Regions from separate parts of the Homo sapiens genome. Here all the other regions are linked to region 6. Evidence: promoter capture Hi-C in 16 types of primary human blood cells and fetal thymus (Javierre and others, 2016). All regions are on one chromosome and are shown on one strand. The core of a region is centred on a gene start or on the middle of the fragment in contact, and the rest is flanking DNA. Distances in the headings are between cores, read along the strand shown.

Evidence for each region. The method cuts DNA at HindIII sites, captures the fragments that hold promoters and counts their contacts. A CHiCAGO score of 5 or more calls a contact.
Region 1: a contact is called between a fragment that was not itself captured here and the fragment with the promoter of FEM1C in region 6, in 4 of 17 cell types (non-activated CD4 T cells, total CD4 T cells, total CD8 T cells and 1 more). The highest score is 9.9, in non-activated CD4 T cells.
Region 2: a fragment that was not itself captured here is called in contact with the fragment with the promoter of FEM1C in region 6 in 2 of 17 cell types (naive B cells and activated CD4 T cells); the score reaches 7.0 in naive B cells.
Region 3: a fragment that was not itself captured here is called in contact with the fragment with the promoter of FEM1C in region 6 in 1 of 17 cell types (total CD4 T cells); the score reaches 5.2 in total CD4 T cells.
Region 4: a contact is called between a fragment that was not itself captured here and the fragment with the promoter of FEM1C in region 6, in 1 of 17 cell types (M0 macrophages). The highest score is 5.4, in M0 macrophages.
Region 5: a contact is called between a fragment that was not itself captured here and the fragment with the promoter of FEM1C in region 6, in 1 of 17 cell types (naive CD4 T cells). The highest score is 5.7, in naive CD4 T cells.
Region 7: a contact is called between a fragment that was not itself captured here and the fragment with the promoter of FEM1C in region 6, in 1 of 17 cell types (fetal thymus). The highest score is 5.2, in fetal thymus.

What each region holds. Positions count from the first base shown.
Region 1 is chr5:111,509,105-111,512,575 of GRCh38, reverse strand. It overlaps STARD4 (StAR related lipid transfer domain containing 4), which reads left to right and starts at 41. Exons shown (of 6, transcript NM_139164.3): 1 at 41-191. STARD4-AS1 (STARD4 antisense RNA 1) reads right to left here and starts at 350. Exons shown (of 7, transcript NR_040093.1): 1 at 68-350. RefSeq lists a silencer at 1-166 and enhancers at 197-406, 3,273-3,392. The HindIII fragment of the contact is 1,073 bases long and covers 1,527-2,599 here.
Region 2 is chr5:111,527,551-111,531,376 of GRCh38, reverse strand. The region is part of intron 1 of STARD4-AS1 (STARD4 antisense RNA 1); the gene reads right to left. Among named protein-coding and RNA genes, the nearest start is that of STARD4, 17 kb to the right of the region's middle. RefSeq lists enhancers at 836-885, 134-1,333. The HindIII fragment of the contact is 5,472 bases long and covers 1-3,826 here.
Region 3 is chr5:119,459,417-119,463,280 of GRCh38, reverse strand. All of the region lies in intron 2 of HSD17B4 (hydroxysteroid 17-beta dehydrogenase 4), which reads right to left. Among named protein-coding and RNA genes, the nearest start is that of HSD17B4, 8.9 kb to the right of the region's middle. RefSeq lists a silencer at 1,492-1,709 and an enhancer at 3,855-3,864. The HindIII fragment of the contact is 3,959 bases long and covers 596-3,864 here.
Region 4 is chr5:119,317,744-119,321,388 of GRCh38, reverse strand. It overlaps a transcript of TNFAIP8 not described here. Among named protein-coding and RNA genes, the nearest start is that of TNFAIP8, 36 kb to the left of the region's middle. RefSeq lists an enhancer at 2,809-3,068. The HindIII fragment of the contact is 8,252 bases long and covers 1-3,645 here.
Region 5 is chr5:110,724,954-110,728,830 of GRCh38, reverse strand. It overlaps TMEM232 (transmembrane protein 232), which reads left to right and starts at 2,160. Exons shown (of 14, transcript NM_001039763.4): 1 at 2,160-2,204. The HindIII fragment of the contact is 2,095 bases long and covers 362-2,456 here.
Region 6 is chr5:115,542,642-115,546,202 of GRCh38, reverse strand. FEM1C (fem-1 homolog C) reads left to right here and starts at 1,428. Exons shown (of 3, transcript NM_020177.3): 1 at 1,428-1,680; 2 at 2,520-3,253. The coding sequence starts at 2,710. RefSeq lists silencers at 1,138-1,477, 1,578-1,627, 1,678-1,847 and enhancers at 1,277-1,571, 1,113-1,879. The HindIII fragment of the contact is 1,787 bases long and covers 454-2,240 here.
Region 7 is chr5:111,741,004-111,744,757 of GRCh38, reverse strand. The region is part of intron 2 of NREP (neuronal regeneration related protein); the gene reads left to right. Among named protein-coding and RNA genes, the nearest start is that of NREP, 14 kb to the left of the region's middle. The HindIII fragment of the contact is 839 bases long and covers 1,655-2,493 here.

The sequences.
Region 1 (3,471 bases), core at 814-3,313, 4.0 Mb after region 6:
GGGCTCGGCCCGCCTTGCCCTGAGGCGCTGGGTGCCTTCCAGTTGGCTGCGACCAGCGGTGACTTACAAGTTGGCTGCTGTCGCCTGCGCATCGGCGGGCCGGGAGGCTGAGCAGTACTGTTGAGAGCGGTGTGAGGTGCTTGGTAGCGCGCCGTAGCTGCTTCCACGTCCTTGCTTCACCTCAGGTAAAGGTAAGGAGAGCCACGGAGCCGCGGCAGGATTGGGGTGGCCCGTGTGGAGGGCGACTGTGGCGCCCGGGGCGTCCTGCCAGGTGCGTCTTCTGGACCTGCTCCAGACCATGGATCTGGGGAGCTCGCGGTGGACGTTGGGGATGGCGGGCCCCGGCGTCCGGGCGGGAGAGGACCTCACAGATGAAAGAGAAACCTGAGCCCCTGGGAGGGGAAGCGGCGAGCTGGAAGGATCCCAGGGCTTGCAACTCGCCCCTGCGCGCCGCTCACCTATTTAAGTACTTGGAATCCATTAGACCTCAGTGTCCTCAGCTGTTAAATGGGAGAGGGGCGGTGGTAATCCCGCTTGATTTGGGACAGTCCTGTTCTTTGGAGGTCACCGCGCTTCCTGGTTCTTAGGAGGTGCACAGACAGCGCAGGGGCAGCCGCGTCCCACCAGGCTTCGCGGAGGTGATGCCAAAGACAAGAGACAAAGTTTTCCCAGGGCTTACTGCCTTCCAAGGTCCCTGCTAAATGTATTAACTCAAATAATTTCTCACCAAATCAGTGTCATTGTTTTCCCGAATTTACACTTGAGAAAGATTACCTTAGATTTTTAGGTTCAGCAGCCAGGACAAAACTTGACAAATATTTGGTGGGCCCAGGTTTTTTATATGAAGTCTTTTCCAGCCTGTGATCAGCTTCCACAGTTTTACAAGAGAGAGCTTTAGGCTCTGAAGTCAGACGCCCTGGGTTGGAATTCTGGCTCCATCACTTATGAACTGTGTGATCTTGGACAAGTGACTCAACCTTCCTGTTGCTATTTTCCCTTTCTGTAAAACAGGGAAAATGTATAGACATTAAGCTACTATTCTCACTTATGGAAGACCTCAAGATATCTAAAGTATGCCCATTTACACCAATCCTAGAGCTTCTGAATAACTAAAATTCCTTTACCATAATGAAACACATTTTCTCAAGGAGGACTATTACTGTTGTGAGGATTAAATAAAATAAATGCAATGTAAAGCAGCCAGAAGGACTGACCATGTAGTAAGTGATCAATAAATGTTATTGTTATTTTTTAAAATCAAGTACAGAGCATTAGGTTTTTTTTTTAATCAAGTATTAGAGCATTAGGGGTTTGAACAGTAAGTTGGCTCACTATTCATATTGTAGAAATATACTTCCATGTTGCATTTCTTTAAATAGTGAGCTCCTGCCAGAGCCAGTCTCAAAAAATGAGAAGCTGCTGTACTTGTCTGAGTTAGAAAACTTAACAGTTCAACATTGATTGGAAATCAAGCATATGCTGAAATTTTTATGTTAGTTAGAAAATATAATTTAATTTACAAAGCTTTGGTTTGTATGACATTGGGGAAAGTCCATGGCATGTTAAACTGAAGCTGTTGACGGAAGTGAAAACCATATTAATCAAGTAATGCAAGGTTAGACCGTTCTGATACCTGCATTTCTTTAACAAGTGAATTCTGACCTAGTCGTACTACAAAAGTCCAAACAGATTTTTATGGCATTCACTTTACATTACAGGTTAAATGTTTTATTATGTTCCATATTTAAAATAGAACCTATGCCATCTCACTGTGACAGATATTTGAGAATAATTGGAGTTGGATTGGTCAAGACTATGGTGCTGATAGATGGCCTCAAGAAAAGTAACTTGAGACAGCTGCCCTCCCTATGATGGCAGCCACTATCACCACTAGTGATAGCTTCAAAAGCATGGGCATAGAAAACATGAACAAAAAGATTAAAGGAAAAACATGGAGGTGGACATTACTCAGCATTTGGCCATGGGACTGACAAGAGTATAAAATCTTTTATATGAACCTATTATATTCTGATAAGGTTAAGTGGTGCCTGTTCTCTCTGACGTGTAAATGTTAGAGTTGGATAATTTCCTGATATAAGGTCAAGATAAGGGAATAAAAGACTGAATTAGTAAAAGGAAGTTCAGAATGGGTTCAGAATGGCATTTAAAACATTTACCTGACATTCTCCACAGTTGGAGATTGCAGGAGGGCAAATTAGGTGTTTTCCTCTCAATTAATGTCAGTACCCTGTTATATTAGGAGAGAGAGCCAAGACCTTGATAACCCATCTCCCCCAACCCTCTTGGTTCTAGAATATATTAATATTTTGAGAAATGCTCAATTATGCCTGTTTACACAGAGGTAGCAGTTTTGATGGCAATGATTATTTCATTATGGACTTAATCTTGATGAAAATAATCCATGCAAGACTTAACTGTTTGGTTAAATACATTGCTGGACATATTTAATCAGAGAGAGCTTTCTGATTTTGTACTTCTTTCTCTTCCTTTCCTACCTCCCACTGCACCACTCTTAAAAAGGCTATTAATAGAATTTTTTAATGTTTTAGTTTTTGTTGTTGTTATTTCTGTTAAAGCTTAAGGGTGGAATAAGTCAATTTGAGAGTAAAATCTGAATTCCATCTGTTTCTGTAGTTCTAGGACCTGGTATATAATAGATGCTTGATAAATATTTAATAGTAGTCCTTCTTGAGAAATGGTGTTTCATTATGGTAAAGGAAGTTTTAGTTATTCAGAAGCTCTAGGATTGGCGTAAATGGGCATACTTTAGATATCTTGAGGTCTTCCATAAGTGAGAATGGTAGCTTATTGTCTATACATTTTTCCATTTTTTATTCACTGTGTTCCTACTGAGTGCTAGACGTAAGGAGAATTAATATTGAACAAGCCAGATTTCCTACCCCCCAAAGATTTTACAGTTAAACGGGAGAAGATAACAAGTGAATAATTACAGTACAGAGTTGCTGTCAGAAAATATTGGAGGGGGAACTAACCCAGGTTCAGGGGAATCCAGGAAAGATAAGTGGAAATTAGGTAATGAAAATATGCCACATTATAAAAGGGCCTGTAAGCTATAGTAAGGAGCTTGAACTTTATACTGATCAGTATGAATTACTAAGTCAAGTACCTTAAAGTTGCAGATTCTCATCTCTTCTAGGTAGCTAGCTTTCTAGGTAACTTTCCGTGCACTGGATTTGCCCAGTGATAATGTTTGCTTATGATAATAATAACTTTCTGTTTCACCTTTGATTTCTATCAAAAAGTTTTGCATAAATACTCTTATCTGCCAACCACAGGAACCTAGCAGGTGACCTTTGGGTTTAAAGAATATGTTTAATCATAGTGATCCCTGTAATAGATAAATTAAATCTCTTTTACAAGCCTTCTGCAAGAACTTCTGCTTGTTTGTGGCATACTCTTGAATAAAGTTATTGAACTGGCTATCAAGTT
Region 2 (3,826 bases), core at 1,083-3,582, 4.0 Mb after region 6:
GGCGGATCACGAGGTCAGGAGATCGAGACCACGGTGAAACCCCGTCTCTACTAAAAATATAAAAAATTAGCCGGGCGTGGTGGTGGGCGCCTGTAGTCCCAGCTACTCGGGAGGCTGAGGCAGGAGAATGGCGTGAACCCGGGAGGCGGAGCTTTCAGTGAGCCAAGATCGCGCCACTGCACTCCAGCCTGGGCGACAGAGCAAGACTCCTTTTCAAAAAAAAAAAAAAAAGAAAAAGATTTTTTTTTCCTGTTTGATTAACTTTTATTTTAGGTTCGGGGGTACATGTGCAAGTCTGTTACATAGGTAAACTCGGGTCACAGGGGTTTGTTGTACAGATTATTTCATCAGCCAGGTACTATGCCCGGTATCCAATAGTTATTTTTTCTGTTCCTCTCCCTCCTCCCAACCTTCACCCTCAAGTAGGCCCCAGTGTCTGTTGTTCCTTTCTTTTTGTATCCATGGGTTTGTATCATTTAGCTTATAAGTAAGAACGTGTGGTATTTGGTTTTCTGTTCCTGCATTAGTTTGCTAAAGATAATGGTCTCCAGCTCCACCCATGTTCCCGCAAAGACATGATCTTGTTCTTTTCTATAAAGCCAAGATTTAAGATCCAACAATCCAGTTCTAGAATCTTAAGCCTCTTTAGCATAGGGTAAATATGTACATCAAGTACAATTACGGCAGTGGAATCAAATAGGCTCTCCTGCAATCTCAAACTTGCTTATACTTTAACTCATATATGGTTAGGTTTCAAACACGTGGGAGAGACAGAAGAACCCTAGGAATTTAGAGATGGAACTTGATAAAGGCATTTCTCAGAAGAATTTCAGACAGCAGGAACTTGACTTCAAAGGTTGGTGTGACGTGGGCAGACACAGAGGGGGAAGCACAGCCCAAGTACGAGCGGACGGCAGGATGGGTGGAGGCAGCAATGCAATGGAGTGAGGAGAGGAAGTGTGGGTGAGTCAGCAGAAGGATGTGATGAGGCGGAGAATGGGGGCACTCGCGTGGGGACAGAGGAAAGGCAGGAAGGTCAGATTGGGCCATGTTGTTCATGTACGATCTTCATGTCAGATGAAGAAGTTAGATCTTTAGCTCAACGGTTATATGGAACTATTGAGAGTTTAAAAATGATATTTATAGCCTTTATAATTTTTCAAAGCAAGTGTGCCCACTGTGAAATATTTGGAAACCAAGGAAGACACAAAGCTAAAAGACTATCTGTAACTCTCTCTTTGTTAATATTTGGAATATATCTTTCAGTCTTCATACCACACACATAAATTTTCCCCCAAAACAATATTTACTGTATTTTATATAATAATTATAGAGTATTTTAATGTTTCGGTTTTGTCATTTATTATAGTACATGTCTATTATAAATAAATAACAAAATAGAAGCAAAAACACTAAAAGCAAAACTAAAATTATAAAAATTCTAGGCTCTTACTATTATTTTTATTGTATATGTGTATGTGTATATATGCATCCTTTTGAAAAAATATAGATCCCGTTAAAAAATAGAATAATAATTTACCTACTGTTTAAGACCCTATACTCTTCTCTTAATATATCAGGAAAATCTCGATATGTTGACATGTGCATTTTTATAGCAAAATTTAATACCTGCATCCTATACAAAATAATTTATACGATCTCATATTTTTAAATTGCCTTTATGTCTTTGTTGAAAATCAGTTAATTATGTAAGTATAGGTCTATTGCTGGGCTATTTCATTGACCTATTTGTCTATCTTGATTGAATATCATAATTTTGATCAATGTAACTTTATACCAAGATGTGAAGACAGGAAGTAAAAGTTAGATAACTTAGTTCTTCTTTTTAAAAGTTGTTTTGGCTATTCTATGCCCTTTGCATTTCCACATGAATTTTAGAGTTAGCTGTCAACATCTACAGATGAGCCTGCTGAGATTTTAATTGGGATTTCATTATATCTGTAGATCAAATAGGGAGAATTGATATTTTAGTCATGTTTATCCAAACACATGCCATTTATCTCTATTTACTTAGACTTTAATTTCTCTCATTATGTTTGCTAGTTTGCAATATACAGGCCATGTTCATTTTTTTCATATTTATCCCTAATATGCATATTTAATGGCATGTTTTTATGCCAGTATAAATGGTATTATGTTAATTTTAATTATGTATGTATGTATGTACCTAGTATATAGAAACAGACTTGATTTTTTATATTGATCTTGCATCTCCCAACTTTGTTAAACTCACTTATTAGATGTAATACATATATATAAATTCCATAGGGTTTTCTAGGTAGATGATCGTTTCATCTGTGGATAAAGAAAATTTTATTTTCTTATGTCCAATCTGGATATCTCTTATTTCTTTTTCTTGACTGGCTGGACTGGCTAAAGCCTCCAGGACAATGTTGAATAGAAGGGAGAGAGTAGACATCCTTGCCTGTTTCCTCATATTAGGGGAAAACATTTCATCTTTCATCATTAATAAGACGCTAACAGTACAGTTTCGTAGATGCCCTTGATCAGGTTGGGGTTGTTCCTTTTATTCCTATTTTGCTGACTGTTTTTATTGGGATTAGATTTTGGGCATTTGTCAAATGCTTTTTCGTCATCTCTTTTTTTTTTTTCCCCAGTCTGTCAACATGGTGAATTACATTGATTGTTTTTCAAATGTTAAATTAACCTTGCATCCCTGAGATAAACCCGACTTGGTCATGATGTATTATCCTTTTAATAAATTGTTTATTATTTTATTTGTTATAATTTGGTAAGAATTGTTGTCTCTCCGTTCGTGAGGAATAACGTTCTGTAGTTTTCTTATAATATCTTTTTCTGGCTTTAATGTAATAATGCTGGCCTCGTGGAATGAGTTGGGAAGACTTCAATTTTCTGGAAGAGTTTGGGTTGCAAGGCTATTATTTCGTCCTTAAATGTTTCATAGAATTCACCAGTGAAGACATCTGAAAATGGAATTTTCGTGGAAAGTTTTAAAGCTCTAAATTTAATTTCATTCATTGATATAGTGCTCTTCAGGTTATCTATTTCTTCATGAATGAGCTTAGTAGAATAGTTTGTATCTTTTAAGGAACTTGAAATTCTTTTTTCTTAAGGTGGAAGCTGATGTCATTGACTTGAGACTTCTTCTTTTTTAATTTAGATATTTAGAGCAAAAATTTCCTTATGATTACTGCCTTAGTCGTAAACAATAGATTTTCATATGTCTTTTTTATTTTCATTCAGTTTTTAAAAATCTTAATTTTTTGTTTATTTCTTTTTTGACTCATGGGTTATTTAGCAGTGTGTAATTTTCTTTCTAAATATTTGAGTTTTGTCCAGATTACTTTACTGATTTCTAATTTAATTCTATTGTGGTCAGATAATATACTTTGAATGTCTTTTGTCAGGCTTCTTGATTGGAAATGGAAATTTAATCACGTATTTTTGGACTTGCAGTTTCTAATTTTTATGCTACTAAAAACAATTCTTAGATGAAGATGAACTTGGGTTCTTTTTACCCTTTCTTTTTTATTTTCTTAAAAGTCTCAGAAACAAAAGTTTTGAATCAAAGAGTATATAGTTCCTTCTCTAGAATTTATATATACTGTTACATGCCTTGTTTCATGTTTATATTCAATAATTTGCAAATATTTTCTTCAGATCAATATTTTTTCTATAACATATTCTTAACGACTGTATATAATTTTACTTTATTGATACCCCAAATTATATTAACAATACTCTATTGTTGGACATCTAAGCTCTTTCTAACTTGAGGCAAGTTTCCATAATGCTTTTAATAAACTACACTGTAGATCATTAG
Region 3 (3,864 bases), core at 1,326-3,825, 3.9 Mb before region 6:
TGGAACCGGCCTAAGCGTTCATCAACAGATGCATGGATAAAGAAAATGTGGCACACAATACATAATGGAATACTATTTGGCCATTAAAAAAATGAAATCCTGTCATTTTCAGCAACATGGATGAGCCTGGAGGAAATTATGTTAAGTAAAATAAGCCAGGCACAGAAAGATAAATACATCATGTTTTCACTCATATGTGGAAGCTAAATAAGTTGATCTCACAGAAGTACAGAGTATAATACTGGTTACTAGAGGCTGGGAAGGGTAGCAGGGAAGAGGGGAATAGGAAGAGATTGATTAACCAATACAAAATTACAACTAAATAGAAGGAATAAGTTCTAGTGGTGTATAGTACTCTAGGGTGATTATGGCCAACAATAATTTATACTATATTTTCAAATAGCTAGAAGAGAGGATTTTGAATGTTCCCAATGCAAAGAAAGGATAAATGTTTGAGGCGATGGATATGCTAATTACTGATTTGATCATTACACACTGTATAAAGGTATGAAAATATCACACTGTACCCCATAAATATGTATGTGTCAATTAAAAATAATAAGAAAAGAAAATCATTGGTACATGCTGAAAAGCTTAGATATAGAAAGAACATTAAAAATACTTTTTGCAATTATATACAAAGAGAATTGTATCCATAACATGTGACACTGTTACCACTTAAACGTATAGCTAAAATTCTAGTAGTAATAATAATAACTTATACTGATATGTGTGTACTTCACATTTCAATAAAACTACTATGTACACTGATGCATTTAATCTCCAGATAGCTTTTTAAGAGAGTGGCAGTAACAATTGTTCCTACTTTCACAGATAAGAAAACAGTTTGGAAAAGATTATCCTACCACGGGTCCCTAAGTCTATAAGAAACGGCAAAATTTACACTAGAAATTGGACCTACTACAGTACCACTCTGCTCCTCAAATGTGTTAAGCAAGTTTCTTTTACCCTAAAAAGATCATTAGTTCCACTAAGCAAAAAAAAAAAAAAAAAAAAAAAAAAAAAAAAAAATCACATTTGTTGGGGGAGGATATGAAGCAAAAGATAAATCAACCACCCAACTCAAATAGCTTTCAAATAGGTAGCAAAAAATGGTAAGACTATGATAGTCAAGGGTCAAGTCTTTTCAGCTGAAACTATCAAAATGTTCCAAAGTGTGATACATTTGTACATTTTCCATATAAAATCTAGTTCATAACCCTGGAGGGTTTTTTTTAACATAAATCTTTTCCTTGTTTCTGTCATTTTAAATAAATCAGTGACTCGGACAGTCTATTAACTACAGAAGATTTTTCCTAAAAAGCATTCCCAAAATTTTGTCAAATACGTGCTATATTGGGAATGTACGAATATTGGGAAATCCTTTTCGTTTTTTCTTGAGACAGGGTATCACTGTCACCCAGGCTGAGTGCAGTGACACAATGATAGCTCATTGAAGTCTCAAACTCCCAGGCTCAAACCATCCTCCTGCCTCAGCCTCCTGAGTAGCTAAGACTACAGGCATGCACCACCACACGTGGCTTTTTTTTTTTTTTTTTGGCAAAGACAGCGGGCCTTGCTATGTTGCCCAGGCTGGTCTTAAACTCATGGCCTCAAGCAATCCTCCTGCCTCAGCCTCCCAAACTGTTGGGATTACAGGCGTGAGCCACTGCACCCAGCCAGGATCCAAGGAATTCTAAAACACACTTAGATCCGATAAAAAGTATTCTATAAGTAGGTAAATAGATAACTAAGTACAAGGTACCAAATTATCAGGCATCAATAGCCTGAAAATAGAACCACGTGTTTGTGAGAATGCCTGTTACCCCACATTCTCACAACATTGGTTATTATCATTGCCTTCAGTCTGACAATTACATGATTATAATTTGTAGCTCATTATTTTAGTCTACATTTTTTTGAGCACTAGTAAAGTAATATTTTATTTTCATGGCTTATATTTATATTTATTATTGTTTTGCCTATTTAGTTCACATTTTATTTGGGATACTTGCTTATAGATTTGTAAATGTCCTTTATTTATAAAAGATCTTAATTCTTTGTTACATAAGATATGAATCATAAATTCCTTTACTGAAATGTTGAGAGAGAAATAAAGTTCATATCTGAGCATCAATATTACTTGATGACTATTATGTACATTGCTTTTTACCCCATCTCAGGGTAAAAGTTAGTCCTTACTCTGAACTAAAGGTCCTATGTGATCTGGCCTTCTAGGACCCCTCTGCCCTCATCTCTCACTTTTGTCTCCCTTATGACCTTGCTCGCTATATAACCACACTGGCTCCCTTCCTAACCCTAAAACATACCATGCCTGCTGCAGCCTCAGTAACCTGGCTTCAGCTGCTTCTTCTGCCAGGGATGCCGCGACAGCAGATCTCCTCAAGGCGCACTCCTTCACTTCCTGCAGTCTCTCCTTAAAGCATTTTCTGTTCCATTCACTCATTTTTTTCTCCACAGCACCTACATCTATTATATTTTTACATATGTATTTCTTGATTATCTGTCCCTCCACTACTCCCCACTAGAATATATGCACCATGAAAGTAGGGACTCTGTTTTATTCCCACTATATTCCTCTGGCATCTAGAACAGTGTTTGCTACATAATAGACGCTTAATAAATACATGTTAGATGAATAAATGAATCTATTTGATGTTAAGTCTATTAACCTTATTACTTTTTTTAAAACTGGCAAATGACAAAATAACGACTTGCTAAGAACTACTCTAGCTCTTAAAATGACAAATAGCTAAGAGCTACTCTAAATTTATTCAAAGGTTTTCCCCCATAATCCAGATTGGTGATAGTCATGGAGGTATCCAAGGGAGATGTGGGTATTTCATGTACGGCTCATTTATTATCAGCTGGAATTCACATGTGCCTTCTTATGATCTTTCTCCCTGTATTATATCAGTTTCACTTATTCAATCAGTATATATTCTTGATTACTAAGTACTATACTTACCGTTGCGGAGAGTGTATCAGTGCCTAAAGCAGCCTGGGATGGTTTAAATATTTAGCCCCTCCAAAACTCACATTGAAATTTAATCCCTGATGTGACAGTATAGAGATGTGGGGCCTTGGCCGGGCACAGTGGCTCACACCTGTAATCCCTGCACTTTGGGAGGCCGAGGCGGGCGGATCACGAGGTCAGGAGATCGAGACCATCCTGGCTAACACAGTGAAACTCCATCTCTACTAAAAATACAAAAAAAAAAATTAGCTGGGCACGGTGGCAGGCACCTGTAGTCCCAGCTACTTAGGAGGCTGAGGCAGGAGAATGGCGTGAACCCGGGAGGTGGAGCTTGCAGTGAGCCGAGATAGCGCCACTGCAGTCCGGCCTGGGCAAAAGAGGGAGACTCCCTCTCAAAAAAAAAAAAAAAGAGATGTGGGGCCTTTAAAAAGTGATTGAATTGTGAGGGCTCTGCCCTTATAAATGCATTAATCTATTCATGGACTAATAGATTAATCGGGTAATGAATTAACAGGTTATCATGGGAGTGAGACTAGTGGCTTTATAAGAAGAGGAAAAGAGACGAGAGCCAGCACACTCAGCCTCTTGCCCTGTGACGCCCTGTGCCATCTCGGGACTCTACAGAGTCCCCACCAGAAAGGAGGCCCTCCTCACCAGATGTAGCCCCTCAGCACTGGCCTACTCAGCCTACATAACTATAAGAAATAAATTCCTTTTTTAAAATACATTACCCGGTTTTAAGTGTTCTGTTATAAGCAACAGAAAACAGACTAAGACACAGAGCTTTTCCTTTAAGCATCTAGGAGAAACATGTATAAGGGGGCTAGGATGTGCCTTGAGTCAACAAGACCTCAGTCAACAAGACC
Region 4 (3,645 bases), core at 284-2,783, 3.8 Mb before region 6:
GACTAGAAATCATCCAGATTCTCAATCTTGGCTGTATGCTGGTATACCCAGTAACAAAATATGAACAAAAAAAACCAATTCAAACCAAAACAAAACAAAAACTGATGCCCACAAGTCTTCCCCAAAGGTTCTCAATTAACTAGACTTGGTATCCAAGTCTAGTCTTTTTTTTGAGATGGAGTCTCACGGTGTTGCCCAGGCTGGAGTGCAGTGGCTCGATCTCGGCTCACTGCAAGCTCCGCCTCCCGGGTGCACACCATTCTCCTGCCTCAGCCTCCTGAGTAGCTGGGACTACAGGCACCGGCCACCACGCCCGCCTAGTTTTTTTGTGTTTTTAGTAGAGACGGGGTTTCACCGTGTTAAACAGGATGGCCTCAATCTCCTGACCTTGTGATCCGCCCACCTCGGCCTCCCGGAGTGTTGGGATTACAGGCATGAGCCACCGTGCCCAGCCAAGTCTAGTCTTTTTTAGTTTTTTGTTTTTCGTTTTTTGTTTTTTTTTTAGCAGGTTAAGAACCCTAGAGACAGTGTAGTATGAAGAAGAAAGTCAAGGACTAAGCCCTGGGGCAATTCCATCTGTAGAGGCCCTTGGAGAGAACAGTTATTCAGGTAGGAGAAAAAAAGGGGATGTGATGCCCTGGAAGTCAAGTCAGGACAGTGCTTCAAAGGGAAGTGAGGGGGTGGGGGTGGTTACAAGGTCATACTACAAAAAGAAAAAGAAGGGGGCCGGGATGGATGATGCCAACTACTACTGAGAGACTGAAAAAGATGAGGACTAGAACAGGCCATGGGATTTGTTAAAATGGAGGTCTTTGGTGACCTTAACAGAAAGGGTTTTTGAGGAGTAGTGGAGTGGGGAGGGGCAGCAGGAAGGGGAGATTGTACACACCCCAGGAGACAAGTCTTCTAGCAGTTCTGCCAGAATGGGCAGGAGAGAAGTGCCATAGAGCTGGAAGGCTACATTGAATAGAGAAATTTCTTTAACTTGTTTTTTAAGAAGGGTGATAAAAAGGCATGTTCTGATGGTGATAGGGATGTTTCCATAACTGGAAAGAAATTGATGTGCAAGAGAAAGAATATAATTGCAGGAGGACTTGAAGAAGTTGGAGAGAAAAAGCCTTTAGGGACCCTGAACCAATGAATCTGAAATTCCCCAACTGCCAGATGTATCTTCATTTTTCATTTTCCGGGAGATGTAATATGTCCTAAAAATCACAGTCGCTAGATTGAAATCAACCTTAAAAATCATCTAGTCCAATGTCTACTCCCAGTCCACTACTTGAATCCCCTGTGTCCCCTCCCAGTAGTCGTCTTGACAACCTCCACTGAAAGGCAATTTCTACACTCCATCCACCCCACCACCAACCCATGGTTCATGATCTCTTCGGACACTCCTTGAACTGAACAGAAATCTGTTTTCCTGTGCTTCAATCCACTGGTTCTGGTGCTGTGCCTTCGGGATACACAGAACATGTCTAATCCCTCTTTCACATCTTTCAAACAAACGAAAACTAGTAACTCCTGTCCCACCTTGTTAATTATGTACTTCCTAAACCAAGCCAGTTCTTTTCACATGTATGGACAAACAGATTCTATTCTAGAAAATATCTAGACATGGGCTACAAATCCACCTCGGCGTTCTTTAACATAAAGAAGGTACTGTCAAGCATAATAGAATAAAAGGTGCACCAATATACATAGAAATAACCCATAATAATCCTGGTTACCAAGAAACCAGAGAGGTTCCAGGCTAGTTGGACTTAATCCACTCAATCCTTAAGCACTCATTTAATTATCTCTCTCTCCATCTTGTTCCCCAATTCTAGCAGAGAACTCTCCCACAACATGTGTGTACGCATACACACCACACACTCAACATATGCACATTCACTCAGACTCTCAGATAGGAGAAAATTTGACCATCAACAGCTGCCGTGTTATTAAGCACACGTTGGAATGTTCTCATTAAATCAAGTTTTTAGGAAAGGGTCTCTACAGTATTAACTGATTATTTTCTCGAAACCTCATGTTGGAATACAAACTCCAAAGCCAGAAGAAAAACCTAAATGTTTACATATCCAAACGGATTATTTTATTTCATCTTATCTTATTTCAGGGACAGGGTCTCACTTCATTGCCCAGGCTGAAGTGTAGTAGTGCCATCACAGCTCACTGCAGCCTTGAACTCCTGGGTTCAAGTGACTCTCCCGCCTTCACCTCCCAAAGTGCTGGAATTATAGGTGTCAGCCACCACACCTGGCCAAGAATACTTTTAATGCAATTATAAATTAAGTTAAAAGCACAGTTACAAAAGCCAGGATTAGACTACAATTAAAGTATCCCTTGAATTATGGAGTCACTGCTAATATTCAATGAAGAAACAGGTATGTTGTTCCAAAACTGAAGGAGTATTCATGCCAAATATCATATGAGCTGTTATTCTTCTAGTCTTATTTTAAAACATTCCAACCACTGGAAGTGAAAGGGACCCAAACACGTAAGAGTACTGGCTTAGTGTCTCAAATAACCCTATAATAGGCTAAAACAATTTTTAAAACCAGTATAGTAATTAATGCAAAATGCACATGGTAGGTTCTGAAATGTTTTCTGAATTAATAAACTGCATTACGCTGGAGTCAAGGGTTCATGAGATGGTGAGGAGGAAGGGGAGGAGGGGCAGGAAGAGGGACAGGAGAGGGGAGGGGGCAGGAGGATGCGGGGGGAGGAAGAAAAAAAACTGAAAAACTATAACAGGTATCACTCCAGATTCATATGTACATCAATTTAGTTCTAGGCTAGGCACAGTGGCTCATGTCTGTAATCTCAGCATTTTGGGAGACTGAAGCACGAGGTTCACTTGAGTCAAGGAGTTCAAGACCAGCCTGGGCAACATAGGGGAACCCCGTCTCTACAAAAATAAAAAATAAAAAAAATTAGCCAAGCATGATGGCACATGCATATAGTCCCAGCGACACAGGAAGCTGACGTGGGAGGATTGCTGGAGCCCAGGAGGTCAAGGCTGCAGTGAGCTGTGATCACATTACTGCACTCCAGACTCCAGCCTGGCTAACAGAGGGAGACCTGTCTCAAAAAGAAATCCATTCTAGAACAAAAGGCTGATATAGAGCACTAAAGGTACCACTTGAAATCCCCGTTTAAAGGGACAAACTGAAAAAAAAAAAGAAGTGTCAATCAATCACCTGCAAAAGATCAATGAATTCAGAGCATTTCAAGAGCTGTGACTACTTTGATCAGTTTTGGGGAAGAAAACAGTTTGACTATAATTAATGTTTGACTATAATTAATTAATATAATTAATCAAGGTGGTAAGTCAATTAAATTCACCACCTTGATTAAAGACTAAATTTGACAACTGCATACAAGAAAAAAACACAACTTATTTATGACGAAGATCTTTTATGTGTCCCACACTCTGGAAAAGTGGATGTGTCCAAAGGAAATAAAGATCATGATATCAACTATATAAGGTAGGGCTGGGTGCAGGAGCTCACGCCTGTAATCCCAGCACTTTGGGAGCCAAGGCGGGCAGATTACTTGAGGTCAGGAGTTCAAGACCAGCCTGGCCAACATGGTGAAACCCCCGTCTCTACGAAAATTAAAAAATTAGCCAGCATGGTGGCCTAT
Region 5 (3,877 bases), core at 160-2,659, 4.8 Mb after region 6:
GGCAATGATATAGTTTCTGAAAGCATAATTGTGCCATACTAAGGGGTTAGGATGGTTTTGACATGCTTATTTTCCTAATTGCTAATTAATGGCCATTTTAGGATTATATATATATAGGTATATATATAATAATTTGAAAAAATTAGATTTGTCTTGTCAAAACTTCAATGTAGATGACTAATTAAAGGGAGAAAGGGGAGGTATGACTTTATTAGATTTATTTTTCTTACATAAATTTTCTAAATATTCTTGTCATTTTTTAAAATCATTGTGGGTCTCCTATTAGCTTAATATTATTGTGACTCTAAGGTTATACCAATATTATCTTAAAATTATTTAAAATTATTTCCTGTTTTAAGCTTCATTCCTCTGAGATTTATTGTTGCTATGGTATGAGATAGTAGTTCAGATTTATTTTCTTTCAAATTGTGCTCAGCCTCTGTACAGTTTTTCCCCACTGAGTTAAAATGGCAAATTTATCATATATAAATTTTATGCTTTTTCTGTAATCTTTCATTCTACTGATATATATATAAATAAAATCAGTAGATACATATATAAAATCAGTAGATATATTTAGAATAAGTAGATATGTGTAATATATATATATATGTATTTGTGAATTCTTCCTTATATAAACTTGTTCTGTTGTCTTCACTGTAGAATCGATGGGGTGACTTTTTTTCTCTAAACATGCTATAGTTTCAACTGATTCTTATATTATGGAGAAGAATTTTTTATTCGGCCTTCCTTTTATTCCTTTTTAATTCAATCTTCATTTGATTATGAATAACCTGGTTAACAGTTTGTATTTTTTTATGCTTTTAACACTTTTCTAGATCTCTTGAAATTAAAACAAGCAAGCCCCCAGGCTATTATTAAATACCACAGTCTTTTCATTTTTATTTTATCTGGATTATGGTAAGCACTGTTGATATTCTAGGATTTGTTCTCTCACATATGTAGTTTATAGTCTTTGTCAATTTCACTTTTCATTATTACCTTTAACTTACTGATCTTCTAGGAGTGATACGTCAGAGAAGCCTGAGATCACATATTGTAATTTCTGTTTTAAACATAAAAATGCACTCAAAAAACAAAAAAACTTAATTCCGAATCGAAGTAGTTCAAGTTAAATTTTCTTTCAAAGTTCTAATTTTTAAAGGCAGGTCATTTCACAGGACAATCCCTGTATATTACGTTTTAGTATTTTTTTTTTCTTTAGATGGAATCTCGCTCTGTTTCCCAGGCTGGGGTGCAGTGGCATGATCTCGGCTCACTGCAACCTCCATCTCCTGGGTTCAAGCAATTCTCCTGCCTCAGCCTCCTGAGTAGCTGGGATTATAGGTGGGTGCCACCACGCCTGGCTAACTTTTGTATTTTTAGTAGAGACGGGTTTCACCATGTTAGCCAGGATGGTCTCGAACTCCTGACCTCGTGATCCGCCCACCTTGGCCTCCCAAAGTGCTGGGATAACAGGCATGAGCCACTGCGCCCGGCCTACGTATGAATTTAATCATAAATGCCCTTCCCCATTCTTCCATATAGTATTTTACACTGGTGAACCTTTGTAAAATATATACAGTTGCTCGTTAGTAGACATAGGAATTCTACAAGGATTTTTAAAGGACTTATATTAGATAATTCTATTGCATACTACCTTTAAAAAGAGGCGTTCTTTTGTGTTTAAATTCGCCCTCTGGTGTTTAGTACATAGCAGAACATTCTAGGTGCTTTGTTTACTCACTGACGGGTGCTGAGGACACTGACTGCTCCAAATTTTCTATGTAAAAGGAACTTACGAACGGCAATTTAATTTAAAGACATAGCTACTTTTGGTATGATAGGCGTGCTGGTTTGTTTTGGGGAAGCAGCATTAAGACACTGAGGAGACATTAAAGCACTGTGAAGCCGCTTCTTGCCGTGGCTTCTTGCAGGATATGCAAGTATGTACAATATTCGAAACAAATCATTACTATGTTCTTTAAAAACGAATAAAGGTCTTTCACACAACATTGCATTTATTCTTTAGAAATTGAACACAAATGTGGTGGAGACGGGACAGGGCAGGTGGAAATTCACTTATAAGTCCTGATTGGCTAAGCCCTGGTCACGAGACCGTAAAAGAGCAACGTCTGTCTCAGAGCGACTCCCACAGCGTCCTTAGCAACCAGCCTTGGTTCCCAGCGGCTCAGAGCGCAGCGGTGAGTGATTAAGAGGTCCTGCTTCAGATGATTTGGGAGCTCAGGTTATTGTCATATTCACCATCCTAGGGCAACTGAAAGACCCACAAAGATCCTCACAGGGGAATACTGAGCCTCCTTTCTCAGGGTGCCATAGCTTTGTTAGAAGAAACACTACTCGCAACCCCAGGCTGGGCCTGCTATCTGGGCCCCTCCTAAGAGTCTAAGCAGTCCATCCTGGAAAAGCCACCAGGTCGTTTGATAGGGGAAGCTTTTTTGTTGGGGAGAATAAAGGAGGTGGGAACTTTCTTATTGCTATGAATAGGGAAATTCATTTAATCTCCCCTGGACTCGCTTATCCTGGGGCAACCTTGAATTCAGAAGACCAGTCTTCACACATCCTCTGTGGTTGGTGAAATTGCACCTTTTTGATTTTTATTTATTTATTATTTATTTAGTATGAAGACTCTTGGACTTCAAAAGAGAAGGTTCAAAAATTTGGCGCTCTGTGTGTGTGTGTGTGTGTGTGTGTGTGTGTGAAAGAGAGAGGGGGGTATATTGGAGATGTGTAATAAAACAATTTTTAAAAGCCGTTAATCTTGAGAAAAATATCCAAGTTGTCTATTAGAAAAATTTCTAGGAGGGGATAAGACTGTAGTAAGAGTCTCTTATTTACCTTACCATCTTAACAGTATGTCTGAACAAATTCTATCATTTGGTTGGTCAAATAATTTGCTTCCTCAGGTTAGAGTCTAAATCTTATATTCTCTAATGCATGTTACCTTTCCAAAGTCTTGATATAATTTTAATATTATCTGTTTTTCAGAAATTGTCTTTTAAAGTATACAGTTTCAACCTCATTTTTATTGGAACTTTAAAAAAATACATGAAGAATTAATAGTAAAACTAAAAAAAGAAATCTGGGTCTGTGCCAGGTTGCAGATGAACTGCCAAGCACCCAGGCAGACTGCTGGAGCCATTTCATGAGCTGAAACATTTCTCTTTAAAGTATAAACATTCTTGGTTTGGGTAATCCACATACATACTTGATTGAAGGTAGCAGATTTTTATTTCACTAAGACCTATTCTGCATGGACCCTTATGATCTTAATGAGTAGTGCTATATTCTTGCTGAACGTCTGATTCATTATCAGAATCATTCATTGTTATGATAAATTTGATAAATGTTCCTGTCTTGAAGTTCATTGTCCATCCAGAGCTCCTGGTAAAGTGTCTGCTCACAAATGCTTAACATTTTCCAAAATGTGTCCTGTATGTAGTTCTAGGAGATGATGTTCTAAAGATTTCTTTAGTCAATAAATTTTAAAGTACTACATGTCACACTGCTACTCAGAGAGATGTAGAGTATATATGAGAATATTAACACTGAGAAATCTTAGTATATGCAAACCTACTTATTTTTGTCTAATCCAGTGGTTTCTCAAACATTTCACAACAGAAAGCTTTTCGAGGTAGTTTCATCCCAAGAAGCAGTATTTTACAGAATGTATTTTAGAAATTAATGTTCTAAACTATATATCACACTTTTTATTTTTGCTTATATTTCCATAAAACCAAATGAATTCATTTCTTTAAAATGTTTCCTGCTGATTCATTACAATACCAAAGAAAACAAATCTCTTTAAAAAATATACCACCTTAGTAAATTATTTTATTCCTATTACTTTCATTGC
Region 6 (3,561 bases), core at 179-2,678:
AAACGTTTAGAGTATAGAAAGGAAAAGCAAAATATATAGTTGTATGAAAATTATTTCAATTATGCAAAACTACATAAACTTCTGAACAACACTACAATATACAAAAATGAAGTTGTGATTTTTTATAAATGTTTTTAGTGCTGCATGACTTCTAACATAACGTTATGGATTACATATGCTGAGGGTCAGACTGCCTACTGTAATATTCTATTTCTCCTAGTGGTACTAAGGAATTATGTGAGCTTAAGTTCCCTCAAACAAAGTGATTGAAGGTCCATTTTCAAAAATTCTGTTTTCTCATCAGGATTCATTATGGGCGTTATTTCCCAAACACATTTAAACTTTTTCATCCTAGTTTAATGCAACGTAGGTTTTAGCATCAAATTCCAGAGGTTTATCAACTACTATATGAAGAAGTAATTCTTTTCATTCATATATATAACCTTTTAAGCTTTAGTTCCCGATTTATTACTCAGAGCTCAAGAACCTGACCTCATTGACTTTACATTGCTCTTAGGGTTTACCATTCCTCGTAGCCTTTATGCTTTTTAGAGGCTACTTTAGAAAGAGAGTCAGTTTGACAGCCTCCAAAACTAATCACATTTTCTGAAATTTCAGTTTCCTCCGTGTGTGTTCTGAGGTGTAATTACGAGCTTGGTAATTTCCAGGGCCCACCAAAGTAAGGACGGAAGACTAGTCCGAGAGACTTCACGTGTGTGAGGGTAATACTGGTCCGCACCCAAATTTGAATTTTAGCTCCCATGATTCCCACATATTGTGGGAGGGACCTAGTGGGAGATAATTGAATCAAGAAGGCTGTTTCCCCCATGCTGCTCTGGTGGTAGTGAGTACGTCTCAGGAGAGCTGATTGTTTTATATGGGGTTTCCCTTTTTCCTTGGCTCTGATTTTCCTCTCTTGCCTGCTGCCATGTAAGACGTGCCTTTCCCCTTCTGGCTTGATTGTGAGGCCTCCCCAGCCACGTGGAACTCTGAGTGCATTAAATCTTTTTATCTTTATAAATTACCCAATCTCGGGTATGTCTTTATCAGCAGCGTGAAAACGCACTAATACACTTCCCTTCTGGGGTCTCTGAGATGGGACCGAAAGATTCCCTAAGGGAGCACCCCGAAAATCCGAGAGGAGAAGAGCCAGCGAGATCTCAGAACTCGAGCTGCCTCGGGCCGCTTCGATGGGCACAGATCCGCCCCCTCGCAGCGCCCCGCCCCCCAGCGCGTTGCACGCAGGCACGTCCTCCCAGTAGTTCAGGCCCCGCCCCCTCCCCGTCGCCCCACCCCGGCCGCGACGCCCCGCCCCGCGCCTAGGCTGTTGCTGGCCGCGGCCGCCGCCCTCCCCCGGCCCAATGGCGTGGCGGCACAGTCAGTGATGTGACGCTCAGGCTTGTCCGGCCCCCGGCTCGCAGCCCATTACACCATCCGTCGCAGCAGTCGCTGCAGCCGCTGCAGTCCGAGCCGACTAAGGGCGGGAGGCAGCTCGGGTGGCGGGGCGTGGCGAACAGCGCGGCCGGATTCATTCCTTTGGGGCGCGGAGCATGGAGGAGCTGTGCGGCCGCAGGCGGAGCAGGGCGGCCCGGGCGGCGGTGGGGACAACGGTTTCCCTTTGAAGGGGACGGACAAAGCCCGAGTGACCAGCGGCGGCGGGGAGGACTAGTCCCCGGGCAGGTAGTGGCGGCGGCAGCGGCCTGCCAGGGCTCGGGCCGGGGCCTGAGGTGCCCGCGGAAGGCCTGGGCGGGAAGGAGGGCGCCGGGGGAGCCGAAGGCGGGCAGCGGGCTGGAGGCCACAGCTTGGCCCATCGGGAGGGGGTTGTGGTCGATGGAGGAGATTGGGAGGGGGCTGCCGTTGTCTGGAACAGGGAGAGGGGAAGGTTGTGTTGGGGCGACTGTGGTTTGAGGAACCTGCGGATCATCCCTTGGCGGGGGGTGGGGGGTGATCGAAATGGGGCGGGCGAAGTTAATGACTAAAAGGCAGGCGGATTTCCTGAGAGCCGTGAGTAGTTTTAAAGGAAAGAGAATCTTTCGGGGCACAGTTTTGGCCTTAGCCGGGGTTTGGTGTGTCCGACCTTTTTGTTCTTTCTCGAAACCCGGCCTCAGGCCTTCCAGCCTGGCGCCCTTGGCCAGCTCTCCTGCAGTTGCAAGAAAGAGAAACATTTCTGAACCCGAGTCTCCTGCCTCTTTCGGTTGTACTCTCCCTGGGCGTGTGCAAAGCAAAACTAGAACAAAGCTTGGCTGGTTAGAGCTGGAGGCGAGAAAACGGGCTGCCTGTAGTGTTTAAATTTTCCGCACATGGAGGAGACTGCCTGCGACCAGAACATTTGGGTCTCTGTGTATCCTTCTGTATTTTTCTTTACCACCTTTTCTTTGGGGGTGGGGGGGGTGTGTGGGATGGAGTAGTGCCTGAAGTATAGCTTTTATTCCTTTCTTCCCACAGAAGTGGAAATTAAGAAGTGTTTTGCCTTCTTCTATAGAAAATTAAATGCTGCTACTTTTTTTTTCTTTCTCTAGTTTGGTGCCCTGGTTGTCAGATGTTGGAAAGCAGTAGGACGGAACATACTCTTCGTGGTTGTGTATCCGTTCTGGGGTGCAGCAATTAACATTGGACTTTGGTTCCTGTGACTCTTGCCTGTGTCGATAGAGTTAAACTGGAGCTCTGCTTTGAAAGATAAATAAAGCACAGCCTCTCAACTGGACATAAATGGATCTAAAGACAGCAGTATTTAACGCAGCTCGGGATGGCAAACTCCGGCTTCTCACCAAATTGTTGGCAAGCAAATCCAAAGAGGAGGTTTCCTCCTTGATCTCTGAAAAAACAAATGGGGCCACGCCACTCTTGATGGCCGCCAGGTATGGGCACCTTGACATGGTGGAATTCCTCCTAGAGCAATGCAGTGCCTCCATAGAAGTTGGGGGCTCCGTCAATTTTGATGGCGAAACCATTGAGGGGGCTCCCCCTTTATGGGCCGCTTCTGCAGCAGGACATCTGAAGGTGGTCCAGTCCTTGTTAAATCATGGAGCATCTGTCAACAACACGACTTTAACCAATTCAACTCCTCTTCGAGCTGCGTGTTTCGATGGCCATTTGGAAATAGTGAAGTACCTTGTAGAACACAAAGCTGATTTGGAAGTGTCAAACCGACATGGGCATACGTGCTTGATGATTTCATGTTACAAAGGACATAAAGAGATTGCTCAGTATTTACTTGAAAAGGGGGCAGATGTTAATAGAAAAAGTGTCAAAGGTGAGTTCAGCTTCTTTGTTTTTCTAAATGTCTACCACTTATTTTCAGGAAGTTTGATACATCATTATAAGCACTGGTGTTGAGTAAACCAGCATTGACAGACCTGTTTTGATTAGGTAAGTCTTCCAGTATGACTTTGTTGAGTGTTTCTATGATGTTTGGTAATAGATTGAAAAAGTGTGATAAAAGACTTCTGTTACTCTGTTAAGCAGTATTTTCTCTCTTATTTGGAGTAACTTAAAATTCTTGGGAAATGGGTTCCCCAGAGTTACAGAGCATGTTAGTGGTAGCTGATCTGAGCCTTTAGG
Region 7 (3,754 bases), core at 825-3,324, 3.8 Mb after region 6:
AAGCCTGTGTTTCTTGGGTGACAACTAGCCCTGAAACACATCTGTTTGGGTTGGGAGCTCCTCCCTTCAGTCTTCTCTGCCTCACATGGTACTGCCGGACTGAATCCCTCATCAGAGAGAAGCCCTCTACTTAATCAGACTTGGCTCCACCCAGAGGGGTTGAAAACCCAGGTGGTGTGCAGGGGCATATCCATTCTAACCCTATTCCATTCCTCTTGTACTTTTAGTTTTCTGACAGTTTTCTTAGAAGCCTCTTAGTGGCTTCTTTTTGTCCTGAGCATTTAAATAGCATGTGGATACAGATCTGGATATATTTTTTCTTCTTTAAAAAAAAGTCAGAATTCTTACCAGATAAGAATTCTGTACCCTGTGATTTACACCAATTTTAATTACATCCATCTGCAATAGAAACCACTTTCCCTCCAAATTTAGTGGTCTGTTATGATACTATTTGCTATTGAAGAGATACCAGTTTTTAAATGACCAGGACAGTGCAAGACAAGCATTGAATTGTGAAATAACTTTAGCTAAATGCTGAAGGGTTTGCAGCTACCAGTAGAAGAGGATACATTGATGGAAAGAGTGAATAGTTTCTTTTGGAATGAGCACTTCGGGGGAAAATGCAGACTTTCTGGAAAGCTCTGTCTTGCACATGTCAACAAGAGGAATGCTTTGAAATCGCTTCAGACTCTTCAAAGCAACTAACTATCTCATCCACCCAGACCAAGAAAAATCCAAAATCCTATGTCTAAATAAATACTTACCTCATCAGCCCTTAACTGAAGGCTTTAACAAAAGAAATCGTATTTTTGAATAATTATTCTTTCATGTTGTTGGGGGAAAATTTTCATAAGATTTTAGTGGATAGCACAGTAATTTTTGGACAGAAGGAAAGAAAACATAGCATTCTTGGTGACTAGAAATTAAACTTCATATAGTTATTTGAAGGTGAAACTCGGCATAGCAAACTTAAAATTATTCAAACCAGCTAATAAAAGCAAGTCTAGATGTTTCCTATTAACCTTGGAATGTGCTTGGAAAAAGCCCTGCTACTCCAGATGTCTAGTATTAGAAAGCATATCAACAGCTTTTACTCTCAATTGTGGTGAATAATACCATTCTAAAATTCACAAGTGCAGTTTGGTGTGCTGGGGCATAATATAGAATTAGTATTCAAGTTTGTTCTTTCTTTTTAAATTCTTAATATATCTTAAAAGTCGGAGAAACATCACAAGATGTCATATTCCTAATTTCTTAGTTACAAATTAAAACCAATTTATATAATGGAATAAGGTGGGCCAGACTTAGAACTCAGATGTGTTAAGTAAATATTTATTCTGGTTCCACTCCAGGGAGGTAAAAGATTTTATTAACATATTTCTTGAATTAATATATTTCTTGAGGTCACAGGGGCAAAGAAAAGCTTATGCAGTGCTTAAATGCCTGAGGGGCCTTTTTGCTGCAAGCTAACAAAGGCTGATTTTTTTTTTTTTCTTCACTAAAGAGAGCAACTATCTTGTATTGTGGCCTTTGCTTTATTATTGTTCACTCACAACTGCATAATCTCAAACCAAGTTTTAAAAAGGCTGCTTTATTTTTTTCCCATTGTTTGGAAAGGCTCTTAGATATTACTTATAAGATTTGTATCCAAGCTTTATTCTTGTGCTTTTTCTCCTGGTTTACTTTGGGCTGTTACCAGCCATTTGTACTTTGTTTTCTCTTCATTGCTGAAAAGAAAAATTGCCCATTAAAAGTCAAGATTTGAAGTGCTGAACTTAATTCCTTGAGTCCAGTCCACAGTTTGGCTCCGATTACTGTACCAGGCTGACCTCCAGTCCAAGGGAGGGTGCCTTGGCAGAAATCTGAGAATTCCTCGATCAGTGACTCCCTTTTTTGGATTTATGGAGTCTTTAGGTGGATTGCTTTGTGCTAAATGTGCTCTTATTGGAAAGGAATGGGGCTGGAATGAGAGGAACACGATGTTGCACAACGTAAATGTTTGCAGCTGACCTCCGTGTTCACTATGCTTGAATTAGCTGGCTGTTGCTGCACCTGGCCTTGAACCATGTACCATCAAAGCCCAGAAAACTCACGTAATGAATGGTTTTAAGTCGTGGTGAAAAAGAAAAGTCGGGTAATTCTGTTAACCTTTTGTGGCTGGCTCCTGACCTGATTTCTTGCCCCCCTTGAAAGTCTTTGCTATTATTCTTAGAAATGAAATTTTAAAACACTCAGCAGCCAAACAAGCAGAATATTACATTGTGGAACAGAGTGACTGTGAAAGCTCTTTGTGCTGACGATTAATTTCACATGTAAACACTTTCATTTTGTTGCCAGCAAGGAGATTTCCTTTTCCTTTCTGTGCCTAGTTAAAGTCTAGAAATAAAATTCCACAGCTGTCAGGTTCCCACATATTCATCAGTGGCCTCTCAAGATGGCTTCACGATGAGCAGAGTGAATTTAGAGGATTCCACTATTAAAGTCTGCAAAGCTTGTTTCAGACACCCCAACTCATAAGATCAAGAATTGTAAATCTTTTGCCTTCCTGACATGTAATGTTGGACAGTAACATCATCTGTGGCATAATATTAATAAAATATGAACGCTTTCTGTGCCCGTAGTGGGAATACACACCCGAAGCGAAGCTAATGCCAATGGGTTTAACCAATTAGTGAGCCATCATTGTCTTCCTTATTGAAACACAGTTGTCTCCCCCAACCTCTATTTGTACATGTTAAGGACTTACCAGGCAATGAAACTCAAGGAGTGTCAGCAGGTGCCACAAAGGCCTTCCTTTCCTTTCTAGCAGGAGGGCATTTATGAGTCTAGAGTGCAGTAGTTGGGTGTTCATAATGCATACTCTGTAATTACCCATTGTTACCACAGCCAGCTCCAGTGTGTGTGTGTGTGTGTGTGTGTGTGTGTGTGTGTGTATGTGTGTGTTTAAATTAGGTCAGTGCATGTTTCGTTTAGCCCCCAAGCCAGAATGCTTGCCAACCTAAGCCCCAGCACTTTTATTCTGCTTTCCAGAATGTGCAGAGGTTACGTACATCATCTGAATGGCCCAGTGTTCTGCAGGCTTACCTTTTTGTCTTCCAGTGGCAACGTGTTTTCCCCACTGTGTGCTTCTTCTCCAAGCAGCATTCACAAGGTTAGGCAGATCTCTAAGACTACGTCTCTAGAGAGACAGCACAGTGCATCATCTTTTGGCACCATCTAATCTTTGATGTAATGTTGTTCAGAGAAAATGATCCTTGTAGCTCATTTATGGTTTCAGTTTACATTTGGCCCTCTCATATGACCAGTAACACCTGGGAACAGAGTGGCTTTTGAGGGAGATTCTTTATAGCACCACCTCAAAGGGTTTTTGCAGAAAGGAAGTGTATGTATATGCGCATGAATTCTCCTTGAATTACAGTACTAGGTTTCACAACCTCCTGGCTAGTTAGGCAGAATAAAACATGTACACATGCAGACACATACTATTTAATTGGCAGAAAGATTATGAAATATACCCCTTTGCTGCAGAAAGAATTGATTATACAGGTTGGACCCGTGCTGCCCTAGTCGGCTTTCCTAATTGCAGGAGACAGATACGCATACCCATCCTGTTAAGTTATAAAGGACCCGTGTGTGCATTCTTTAACCCTATAGGACCCCATCAGGGATAAAGAATAACATTACAGTTATGGTCGTTAACAACCAAACCATGCAACATATCTTCATGGCAGATTTCTGAAAATGTATGTTAACT